Linked DNA regions of Homo sapiens: all the other regions are linked to region 4. The links are contacts of gene promoters, found by promoter capture Hi-C in human tissues and cell types (Jung and others, 2019). All regions are on one chromosome and are shown on one strand. Each heading gives the region's core, a stretch centred on a gene start or on the middle of the fragment in contact. The rest is flanking DNA. Distances are from core to core; before and after follow the strand shown. Region 1 holds the start of DAOA-AS1 (DAOA antisense RNA 1). Region 2 has its middle 46 kb from the start of DAOA. Region 3 has its middle 21 kb from the start of DAOA-AS1. Region 4 holds the start of DAOA (D-amino acid oxidase activator).

Region 1 (3,233 bases), core at 504-3,003, 41 kb before region 4:
TTCAGAGAGCCATTATTGAAAGAGAAAAGTTTCAACAGAAAGATGATTATTGTTAATATTATCGTGGTAAGACCACTTAATGTGAGATCTATCCTGTTAGCACATTTTTACACACCCACTGTTGTGTTGTTAACTATAGGTGCAATGTTGCACAGCAGACTTCAAGAGCTTATTCATCTTCCATAATAAAACTCTGTACCATTACTGTTGAACAGCAACTTGCCATTTCTCCCTCCTTTCACCTCTGCAACAGAATGATAAACCTGGAGAGCATTATGCTAAATAAAATAAGCCAGTTACAGAAGGACACATATTGCATGATTCCACTTATATGAAGTATCTAAAATAATAACGCTTATTCAAATACACGGTGGGATTTTTACTGGGAAAAACGCTCGCTCTTTTTAAAAAAAAATTGAGAGAGATTTGCTTTAGTTGATCAAAATTATAAGCTACCGGAAACTCCCCAAGATGGCATATTGTTGAAGCCATAGTGTGTGCACAGGTGTTGAATAGGCCCTTCAGAGATAAGAAGAGTAAAGTGTGGTATAAAAAAGAGAAAAAGTGCTAGAATGCAGTCATTGCAACATTAAAAGAAATGCTTTATCTTGGGGGAGATCCTTTGGCCAAACTATTTCAACTTGGAAAGATGTAGTAATATAAAAAGATTTCAATACAAGGAAATAAAGAAATTGCATCCGTGCTACTTCTCAAAAGAGTAAGAATTTAACTGATAAGGTTAATTATTATAAAATTAACTTTTACCATCTACATTAAAATTAGGAATTTTCTGAGAATTTGTATTCTTTTTGTCCTTTCAATAAAGGACTCAATATGTTTAACTCTATTTTAAACAGGAATGGCTGCCTATGTCTTGCAGTTTGAATGCAAGACCCTCAAATGCTCAGGAATTATCAAGTAAAGTTTATGTTAAGAAACTAGCATTCTGTTGAATCACTCAATAATGGTTATTATTTAGGATACGCAAAAGTTAATCACAAAAACTTAGACTGAAAGATACTGCTTACAATTATAGGTGGGAAATACCATAAAATACAACCTTTATTTATTTTGGAACTCGTTTTAATGCAGAATAATCCTAGCGCTCTATTTAGTAACAAGAAGAAACCAATTTAAATATCATGCTGATTTAAATAGTATAAATAATAAAAATGACAATTTTTTGTTAATTTTCAGACTCTACATAGCTATTTTTGTCTCTTCTATTCTTATGAAATATTCAGGGAAGATATTATTACTTTCACTTTACAAATGGGATAACTGAGAACTCAATAAATTGTATAATTTATCTCAAGACACAGAGCTGGTTCATGGTAGAGCTATCATCAGAAATCTCACGATTATTAGTTATCCCTTTCCAATTCTGAAGTCCTCTGGGAAGTGTCAGAATTTACACTCCTCACTAGGAACTACTATTGCAGTTGGAACTCTGAGGCTTTATTTGGGAGTTTTTCCTGATTACAGAAAATCTCTTCTTAAGAGAGGTTTTAATAAACAAAATAAGTCGGGGATATTACCAGATAGCCCCTATATCCTCAGAGCTCCCAGCATCACACCTTTTATAAGAACAGTATAGAAAAACAAAGTTCCTTCCCTCCTCCTGCCCTGTGTTATTTTTCCAAAAAACAAACAAACAAAAACCTAACTACACACTAAGTGTGAAAGTGATTGGAGTGGGGGAAGGCAAGCTGGGGCTGTACCAGGTCAAGGGTTGAAAAGAATTAGGGGATTATTACAGTTCTAGTTCGAAGACAAACACTTTTCAATGTATGTCAATGAACTTTATTGAACAGCCGCCATATACTAGTAACCCTCTTAGGTGTGTTGTACACTTACACATCGAAACCAGGGTTTCCCAGATTTCTTATGATGAAACAGATAGAAGGTGATAATGCTGGCACAGCACACATGGACAGTGTGACGGAAGGAGACCAATTAAGGACGAGCGGGTCCGTATTTCTACACACCTGCCACCAGCTGGACGGCTGTGCTGGAAGTCTAAGCCCTGGATGCTTAGCTGTGTGATCTGTGAACCGGCAGCATCAGCGTTCCCAGGGTGCTGGTTAGAAATACACCTCTCAGGCCCACCCAGACCTGCTGAATCAGAATCTGCTGTTTCCAAAATTCCCAAGTGATTCTCATGCACCTTAAAGCTTTAGAAACACTGTTCTAATTAGTGTTCTTAAAATATTGCTATGGGATACAGGCTTTAGTAAATTCTCAGGATATTCTACCATGTACTCAAGTTTGAGAAACAGGAGATTTAATAAATACTGATGTTTGGATCCCATCCATAGAGATTCTGTTTTGATTGGTGTAGGGTGTAATCTGGCATTAACATTTTTAAATTGCCCCTGGTGAGTTTCATGAATGGCAATGTTTGGGAACACCTGCTTTAAGTTAAGCCATGAGCTAATTGTTCTTCATCATATTGCAGATGTGGGAACTGAGACGTTATAAGGAAATCCAATTTGCGAGTGGTAGAGCCAGACTTAAGCTTAGACCCTTAACTCACTTATTCTCAAAACTGGTCTGTGCTGTTTATTATTTTACAGGAGAGTTCTATATTGCTATGTTTAATACATTAGTATCATTTAAATATATTTTAATATATGCCCGTGATGGATAATACTGAGTGTCCACTTGATTGGATTGAAGGATGCAAAGTATTGATGCTGTTGTGTCTTTGAAGGTGTTGCCAAAGGAGATTTGAGTCAGTGGGCTGGAATGGCAGACACACCCTTTATCTGGGTGGGCAGCAACTAAATCAGCTACCAGCTCGGCCGGGATATAAAGAAGGCAGAAAATCATGATGGTTAAGCAAACTAAATATGGCCTGAGAAGGACTCTGTACTTCTATAGGTGAGTCCTTGTGGATGAACTGTAACCTAGCTTAATAGTCAGACAAAATTTAAAACCTAATTTAATAGTATGCACTGTAACAATGGCTGAATGTTGCCCAGTCCCAGTGGGATTCAACCACTCATAGACTGCTTTTGTTCAAACTGCGTTCAAATAAGGCAAACGCCGAGCTGGAACCAATCTCACTGTTTCTGTACCTCGCTTCTAATTCCTGTACGTCACTTTACCTTTTTTGTCTATAAATTTATTCTGACCACAAGGCACCCCTGGAGCCTCTGTGAGTCTGCTGTGGTTCTGGGGACTGCCGGATTCGCGAATCGTTCATTTCTCAGTTAAACTCCTTTAAATTA
Region 2 (3,090 bases), core at 91-2,590, 45 kb after region 4:
CTGGGTTCTCTATACTGTTCCTTTGGTGTATGTGTCTACTGTATACTGGTACCACGTTGTTTTGGAAACTATAGCCTTGTAGTATAGTTTCAAGTCCAGTAACGTGATGGCTCCAGATTTGTTCTTATTGCATAGAATTGCTCTTTTTCGGGCTCTTATTTTGGTTCCATATGAATTTTACGTTTTTAAAAAGTATTGTAAAAATGATATTGGTATTTTGATAGCAATTGCATTCAATTTGTAGATTGTTTTGGTCAGTATGGTCATTTTCATGATATTCATTCTTCCAACCCATGAGCATGGGATGTGATTCCATTTGTTTGTTTCATCTACAATTTTGTTCAGCAATATTTTGTAGTTCTCCTTGTATAGATCTTTCACCTCCTTGGTTAACTATATTACCAGGCATTTTATTTTTTTATTTTTGTATGTTTGCAGCTGTTGTGAAAGGGGTTGAGTTCTTAATTTGATTCTCAGCTTGGTTGTTGTTGGTGCATAGCAATGCTAATGATTTGTGTACAATGATTTTGTAAATTGAGAATTCACTAAATTTGGTTATCAAATCTAGGAGTCTTTCTTTATGATGTAAAAGAGAAGCAAAGGCCAATGGAGTGTCACCCTCTAAGCCTACCCTTACATCCCAGTTACGTTGCTAACTCAGAAAAATCAGCTGAAGGGCACTTGGAAATTCCCTACTCTGACCCAGATAGTCTTTTGATTAAAATCATATGGTTATTAGTTTTTATTTTCCAGATGGAATAAATGAAGACCAAAAGAATGTTTATGTGGAAACTGTGTTTCCCCAAACCCTTCTGCAGTAGTCTTTTCACTGCTGAAATCGTTGATATACTACCATTATAAACAAACACACTCTTTATTTGTTCACCTAACCTGCATGCCTTTATTCCTTAGAAGATTTTCAATATTTTATTTTAAAGCATACTGGAAAGAACAGAAGCATTAAAGAAAAAAAATAAATAAAGGGACTCCCCCCACCTCCACCAACACACACAGGTATCCTCTTTCTCAATTCATCAGTGAGGACGCTTGGTCAGTAAAGGAATTTCTCATGATCCCTCCTCCTTTCTCTACAGGGCATAGATTTGCACACGTGAAGCCAGGCTTCACATGACTGTATTCCATAATAGCACACCAAAAACACTGTCAAAATCAATGAAAACTTCACAATATAAAGAATATAGCTAGAATCATGGTAATGATCAGTTGATTGATATAATATTAGATAAGTGCAGGATGGTAACTTTTATAAACTAACTTTTCAAATGGCTCAGTGAATTGTCTAACATTCCATGGCAAATTTGTATGAAGACTACCTGGAACTCAGCTATCTACAATTTGGTTGGCAGGGGAACTAGGTTTGTGAGTTTGTTTCCCCCCTCTATGTTCTAATGCTCAGCAAACTGTGAAATTTTCCATGAAATATAATAGTTACGTAAATATAAAAAAGCAAAACTTTTTGGTATGTTAATTATTGCACCAACTTGTGTTGTTTGACTACTATTAACAATAAACTAAAACAATTCTACCTGCTTGATTGAAGCAAAAATGTCAATGTGTAAGGATGATGGGTAGATCACAAAATCAAAGAAACAGCTACATAGTCTGACTCAGACAGGACATGTCAAACAGCATCCCTGTAAGGAACTTAGTCTACAGACTCACATAGGCCCTGCCTCAGGAATAAATAAGCTGCACGTGTGTTTTGCTTCCTTGTATTCTTTGATGTCAGGGTCAGATACTGGGAAAGAGACTCAGGGCAAAAAAAGAGTATATTGATTGACAGCTTCCTCAAGACAGCCCACAATAGAAAAGACATTTCTTTTCAAAGAAACTGAGTATAATTGTCAAAAAAGAAAATAGATACTGGTCATCAAAGCAAGACCTTATACTTTGTCAAAGTTTACTTTAAATGTCACCTCCTCCAAAAAGCCATTTTCTCATTCCCCTAAATCATTCTCAGTATATCTCAGCTTTCATTAAACAAGCATGGGCCATGTATTTAAGAAAACAGAATTTACGGGAGGACAAGACAGACCAGACCTTAATTTCAGGGAACATAAATTTTGCCAAAGATGATATTGCCATACTACTATTTCTGTGATTCTCTTAGGATCCTGATGCCTTGTGTCTTAGTTATGTTTTTTCTTAATCAGAAGTTTAAAAAGTATATTATATTTTATTTTAAGTTCTGTGATACATGTGCAGGACATGAAGGTTTGTTACATAGGTAAGCATTTGCCATGGTGGTTTGCCACACTTATCAATCCATCACCTAGGTATTAAGCCCAGCATGCATTAGCTATTTATCCTGATGCTCTCCCTCCCCACAACCCCGAAATAGACCCCAGTGTGTTGTTTCCCTCCCTGTGTCCATATGTTTTTATTGTTCTGCTCCCACTTATAAGTGACAACATGTAGTATTTGGTTTTCTGTTTTTGTGTTAGTTTGCTGAGGATAATGGCTTCCAGTTCCATCCATGTCCCTGCAAAGGACATGATATCATTCCTTTTTATGGGTGCATAGTATTCCATGATGTATATGTACCACATTTTCTTTATCCAGTCTATCATTGATGGGTATCTGAGTTGATTCCATGTATTTGCTATGGTGAATAGTGCTGCAATGAACATATGTGTGCATATCTTAAACAAATTTGTAAGAAAAAAACAAACAACCCCATCAAAAAGTAGGCAAAGGACATGAACAGATACTTCTCAGAAGAAGACATTCATGCAGCCAACAAACAAGAAAAAAATCTCAATATCACTGGTTATTAGAGAAAAGCAAATCTAAACCACAAGATACCACTTCACACCAGTCAGAATGGTGATTATTAAAAAGTCAAGAAACAACAGATGCTGGCGAGGCTGTGGAGAAATAGGAACACTTTTACACTGTTGGTGGCAATATCAATTAGTTCAACCATTGTGGAAGGTAGTGGGGCAATTCCTCAAAGACATAGAACCAGAAATACCATTTTACTCAGCAATCACATTACTGGGTATATGTCCAAAGGAATATAAATCATTCTGTTATCAGGAAATTTTAAAGCTTCTTTGTGATGTGTTT
Region 3 (2,835 bases), core at 163-2,662, 60 kb before region 4:
CAAATTCGAAAAAAGCAATAATCTAACTACAGAATAAACCATGGGCGGTACAGTACAAAAAATGTTCTTATGTTTTTAAAAGTTGTGCAGTCCATTGATCAGGCAGGCAGTGGTGGGGAGAACAAAGCCAAACACTGAATACACGTTTTGCTACAAAGAACCTAGTCTAATCAGTTCCATTTAGAAATGCACTTTTATTTGACTATATTTGCAAATCATCATTTTTTTTTCTCTAAAAATAATATGGAGTGTGGAAATGCTTTCCTATGCAGAAAGGTTTTTTTATTTATTTTGCTGAGTTTCAGGAAATGAAGCTTAGTTGCTACCTTGCATAGAAACACCAAACTATAGAATGCACAAATTTAGCACAGAGTCTGCCACGTATGGCAATTTTGATACCGCTACCTACAATTCACATTTACTGCATCCATCCAATTACACCCATGGTATCAATGCACAGCACTTAGAGCAGGCTGGCAGTTCACAAGAGTGCAACGGATGTCACGCAGTCTGCATATCAGTCAATCTGCTTCCTGATATGCTTTAAGAAAGCCTGTTCCTCAGACTCACCTGAAATGCAAAGAGAGAGGTGGAGGACGATGGCCCATGTTTCCTCTTGTGTACCTACACTGCAGTTCTTGTTGATGACCATCTAATGCAAACTGTCCCACAAATCTTTCAAAGAGAGTAAAGGTGAAGCCAGTCCCTATGTTAACAAACCTCAACCTTATTTCAGCAGATGGTAAACTTTGATTTTGTTTAAGAACCAAAGCTTCAACAGCTTCAGGAAAACATGTGTTTGTAATTCATCTCCATTTTAATGCCACCCTTGCATGGACGAGCTACATCTCCTGCTCCAGGTGAATGGGTTCTTACGTTCTGGACACTGTGTCTTCATTTCAGTTATTGATACCTAGAGTTGGTGAGTTTCAAGCCAATCTCTAAGTCAAGAGTTTATTTGGGAGTTGGGTTTCCTTTTGAAATATACTCCCTGGAGCCTCAGGCTGTTGCCTGTTCACCTGTTTCCTTTTCAGACCAAATCATGGAAAGGACCAGGTTATCTCTGATCCATTTGGGGTGTGTAAATATCAAGAAGGATAAGGTACCTTTCCTGGACTTGAGAACTTATAGCCTAATAAGAGAAGACAGGAATAAAAAAAGAAAAGTTTTAGTTGCTATGAGACTGGCATATAAAAGTACAGGGACAGGACAAAGAAAAAAATGGAAAATTATCAGAAATGGGTATAAAGATGGCTTCATAGAGGAGGTAAACTGTGTCTGAGAAATTAGAAAATGCCCAGAAAGACATCAAAGAGAAGGATAGGCTGAAAGGTGGAAGGCATAAATGCTGTTAAAAAAGGCAAAGAGTCATGAAATAGACAATGAATTTCTAGAAACTAGAAAACTGGACACAATGGGACAGGGCATGGAATACAATTAAGTGACCTCTGATTTAATGTTCAAGCTAGTATCAAAGGAGATGCTGTGAATTCTAATCTTGAAATAGCACACATAAACCAGAGCTGCCCCAGGCAAATTGTGACATATGGTCTCCCTAGGCATAAAGTTAATGGTATAGTCAGAAGGTTAATAACGTAGGAAATGAATTGAAATGGCTGCTCTGACACACACTACAAAGTTGGAACCTGATGCAATGTGGTAGGCAGAATTTTGTTCACTATGACTTTCACCCCCGGTGCCAGCTTTGTGATTATGTTATATGCATGGCAGAAGGGACTTGCAGTTGTAATTAATGTTGCTATTCACCTGACTTTAACAGAGGGAGGTGATCCTGGGTGGTCCAGGTGGGCCCAGTGTAATCACACGAGTCTGTACTAGCAGAAGCAGAAGGCAGACAGATAAGGGAAAGAGGCAGGACAGAGATATTTGAAGCCTGACAAGGACTTGACATGGTATTAATAGTTTTGAAGATGGCGGGGAACATAAGGAAGGGGGTACAGGTGGCCTCTAAAAGCTGATGATGACCTCTGGCCAACAGCTGTTGACCTGGAGAAGAATGTGTGTTAAACAAGTGTGGATGGTGATGATAATAATGAAGATGATTTTGCTTATATGCTGAGGAGACATCATGTTAGGAGTGATTACAGATAATGCAGCAAAAAAGGAGCAAAGTGTTGAGGTAGAGGTGAGAGAAGGGGTGAGCTCAAGAGGCAGGCAGGAATCCTTAGTCAGGCACAGTGGCTATACATTCCTTTTCATTTCTCCTTGGACTTGCAGATGCGAAACAGATTCCTTTTCTCAGATGCCCATTCATTAGGGGTGGCCATGTGACTGAATTCCAGCCATAAAGATCACATGTGGCATTTTAAGGCAGAAGCTTTTCCCTTCTCCCAGCAGAATGGAAAAGCTGAAGCAATAGGAGGAGATGCACCATACAATCGAAGGAAGCAGAGACCCTCAATATGGAACAACGAGAAACATCCCTGCAGTAATAGTTGAACAAAAACACACTCCCATTGTGTTGTGCCCTTTCTTGACATTTTAGACTGTTCATTTTCACAGCTGGACCACTGCAACCATCACACATGTGAGAAGAAGGTGGGTCTAGAAGGAAGAAAGTGAGGGAAGCTACAAATATTCATGTTTGTTAGTGGGGACCATGAAGGCGAGATAGATTTCAATTTCCTCGGCCGGGCATGGTGGCTCATGCCTGTAATTCCAGCACTTTGGGAGGCCAAGGCGGGCAAATCACCTGAGGTCAGGAGTTCAAGACCAGCCTGGTCTAACATGGTGAAACCCCATCTCAACTAAAAATACAAAAATTAGCCAAGTGTGGTGATGGGCACCTGTAATCCCAGCTACTTGGGAGGCTGA
Region 4 (3,175 bases), core at 146-2,645:
AAATCATGGATTGAGGGAAAAATTTACTTGTTTGCTTTATAAAAAGAGATATCGATCTCTTCATAAGTTATATATGTTTTACAAGGTTGCACTGTTTGAACTGTAAGTGTGAATGGTTGCTAACACTCCAGAAACCAAGAGGTACATTTTAACTGGAAAAATTTTCTTCCTGTATCTTACAAATTAATTGAAGTTTGTCTACGCTTGAAAATATGTCAAAAGTATTATGTAGCTTTACCACAGTTTTATCTAACTTCTAGAAGAATTTAAATTCATATAAAGATAAAGAGTAACATACCAATAGAGTTTAGAGAGTTTTCAGATTTGCTCAGAAGAATGCTCCTTTGAAAACCTATGAAGTAGATTTTACCCAATGTATATCTGGATCTAAAAATTAAAGAAAATATCAGTCGTGTTCAGATTCCTTTATACCCTGCAGAAGAGAGAAAGAATAAGCAACATCAATGGAGCATATAACATGTATGGTTTAGCACTTTCATATTTTTAATCTTAACTATTCAGCCAAATACGTCTTATTTTTTTATTTTTATAGATGAAGATATTGAGGTTTGCATTTTTTTTTTATAAATTGCTCAGTCATACAGTTGGTAAATAGCTGACAGGAGAGTTCACTCCAGGTCTTACTGGCTCTCAAACCTTTGCTTTTTAAAAATCTCCAAACTAGCGCCTCTCCCTTTTAACTGCAAAATAAGCACAAAGTTATCCCAGTTCTACACAGTGCTAAACAAATTCCTGTGAGCAAACAATTAGCACAGGCAGATGGAGTGAGGGGGAGGTGGTTTATAACAATGGAAAGCTGTCTGCCTGCTGTGGATTAAAGATTCAAACTCTTTGATCCTCCTCCCAGGGATAGGTGAGGGCCTATGTCTCCTCCTCATTAACATGAGTGATCCTTGGCTAGGTTCTCCTTTGACTGACAGAATATGGGAGAAAGTAAGGCTGAACCATATACTGGGCTCAGGCTTCCAACCCTGACATGTTCCACTTCCTGTCTCCAGGAACATTCACCCTGGGAGCTCTGTGCTGCCATGCAAATGTCACATTGCACTGAGGCCGCCATGCTGTAAAAAACCCCAAGCTACCTACCTGAAAAGCTGGAGAGAATCAGCACCCATCAGCTTTTCCAGCATTTTGGGTCCTCCCAGCTAAATCATCGGCATTGTGAAGCAGAGATGAGACCTCCTGCCATGCCCTTTCCAAATCCTGGACCAACAGAATCATCATATACACTAGTAAGCTTTTACTTTAAGCCACTAATTTGGGGTGTAGCTCTTTTGCAGCAAAAGATCATCAGAACACTGCCATGCAGGAGCTGATAAACTTGCTCACTGTTATGTATGTATCCAATGACTACTCACACACACATTACTTGCTTCACTCTACTTTCTGGCTTTCCATTCAGCAAATTTTAAGAAATGAAAATGTTATTCGTGGGAAATTAACTCAAGATCAATATTGTTGTAGTTAATCTCTTTGTAAATGGTAAAATATTAAATTATTGTGAGTCATTTTTATTTAAAGAAGTTTGGTTCTTTAAATGAAAGAAGTTTGGGTCTTTTGTGGATACTCTGCATATAGACATTCTAGACATGAAAGAATGTTGAAGACAAAGAATGTTGAAGAAATATAGACATGAAAGACTGTTGAAGTTTGGTTTTTTGTGGATACTCTGCATATAGACATTCTAGACTGGAGTGATACATCTTGTTCAGGTTTCTATGTTTTTAAAATGATAACTTGACACGCCTACCAATGCCAATTTTTAGGATATATATTTGTATATCTGTGTGAACTAAGGAAAATTCAGGAATGATTAAACCTACATATTTTGCCAGGAGAGACTGGATAATGTAAGTCTTTATATTTTTCACAACTTCAAGTTTATAGCATCCAAATGAGCAATTGCTGACATACCTAGGGGATTTCTCTGCAGGTTCAAGTCTGATCTGGCCTGAGGGCAACACTCTTACTGAGTGTGTTCCTAGGCACTCCTTGGCAGTTGGCTCCAGGCCACAATAAAGAGCCCTGATGATTCTCTGAGCAGGCCCAACTTCCATTCACATTCATGGGAATATGAGGATGACTTGTGATCTTCAGGACTTAGATAGACTCTTTCAGTTGGTGTAGGGTAAGCTCAGCTCATCTCTAGAGACTTCCCACAGTGGAGCTCATGCATGACTCTGTGCAGGTGGCACAGGACAGCCAGAGACAGGCACCTAAGGAGTGCACTACCAGCAGGTGGACTCTCCACTGAGGGAGGTAGACAAGGGAGAAAGCCAGGTGTCCACATGGAGCAGGCCTTACTCAGGGAGACTGAGATTTTGCTCTACACATCATAAAACGTGGAGGTCATTAATGGAATTTTTCACAGGACATGACTGCCATAGCCATGATAGGGTCCCTGGCTAATCTTTCAATTATGATAGCATCATAAGATAATTTTGAATATGAGGAGAGAAGAATAACTCTAGAACTGCAATATCCAATATGGTAACCCCTAGCAACCTAAGGCTACTTAAACTAATTAAAATTAAAACTTTAGTTCCTCAGTGCCACTAGCCATATTTCAAGTACTCAATAACCACACACACTTGGCTACCATGTTGGACAGCACTGACATAGACCATTTCCATTACTGCAGAAAGTCCTCCTATTTGACAGTCCACCTCTGGAACCAATCCGGAGTCTTTAGGGACCTAAAAGACTGAGGTGCTAAATCTCAGAGCAGTACTCTGCTTAATGCTTAGTTAAAAGACTTGCTAATCTATATAGTTGATCTAGAGAACTTTAAAGGCAGCTAGTTCGTAGCAACTATGTTGCTGGACCTTGAAACTGTATGTCAGGAACTTGGTGTTCTAGTGGTGACTTCTCTTTTATCTACCATGTTCACACTTTTCCTACCACTCATTTATCCATTCAGAAAGTATTTCAGAAGTCCCTATGATTTACCAGGTGCTATTTCAGACACTGAGGCACTGTGGGGAACAAAACAAACAAAGTCTCCTTTCTCAGGGATCTCACATTCCATGTGGTGATGCAGACTGTAAAAATTCACACACAGAAGATACTTTCATACAGTAGGAAGTTTTATGAAGAATATTTCAAAAGGGGTGTGGGGTGGGAGAGGTTGATGTTCAGGTGTTTGCTTGAGAAT

The links. Contacts are between HindIII fragments. The study calls those that stand out against the background at their distance.
Region 1: a fragment that was not itself captured here is called in contact with the fragment with the promoter of DAOA in region 4 in 3 of the 25 tissues and cell types used here (dorsolateral prefrontal cortex, heart right ventricle and lymphoblastoid cells).
Region 2: a fragment that was not itself captured here is called in contact with the fragment with the promoter of DAOA in region 4 in 2 of the 25 tissues and cell types used here (dorsolateral prefrontal cortex and small bowel).
Region 3: a fragment that was not itself captured here is called in contact with the fragment with the promoter of DAOA in region 4 in 2 of the 25 tissues and cell types used here (dorsolateral prefrontal cortex and mesenchymal stem cells).

The regions. Positions count from the first base shown.
Region 1 is chr13:105,505,445-105,508,677 of GRCh38, reverse strand. DAOA-AS1 (DAOA antisense RNA 1) reads left to right here and starts at 2,997. Exons shown (of 7, transcript NR_040247.1): 1 at 2,997-3,096. The HindIII fragment of the contact is 4,071 bases long and covers 1-3,233 here.
Region 2 is chr13:105,418,983-105,422,072 of GRCh38, reverse strand. No RefSeq gene overlaps it. Among named protein-coding and RNA genes, the nearest start is that of DAOA, 46 kb to the left of the region's middle. The HindIII fragment of the contact is 6,564 bases long and covers 1-3,090 here.
Region 3 is chr13:105,524,963-105,527,797 of GRCh38, reverse strand. No RefSeq gene overlaps it. Among named protein-coding and RNA genes, the nearest start is that of DAOA-AS1, 21 kb to the right of the region's middle. The HindIII fragment of the contact is 3,603 bases long and covers 1-2,835 here.
Region 4 is chr13:105,464,265-105,467,439 of GRCh38, reverse strand. It overlaps DAOA (D-amino acid oxidase activator), which reads right to left and starts at 1,395. Exons shown (of 6, transcript NM_172370.5): 1 at 1,380-1,395; 2 at 1,108-1,224; 3 at 299-387. The coding sequence starts at 1,151. DAOA-AS1 (DAOA antisense RNA 1) reads left to right here. Exons shown (of 7, transcript NR_040247.1): 5 at 1,020-1,253. The HindIII fragment of the contact is 13,308 bases long and covers 1-3,175 here.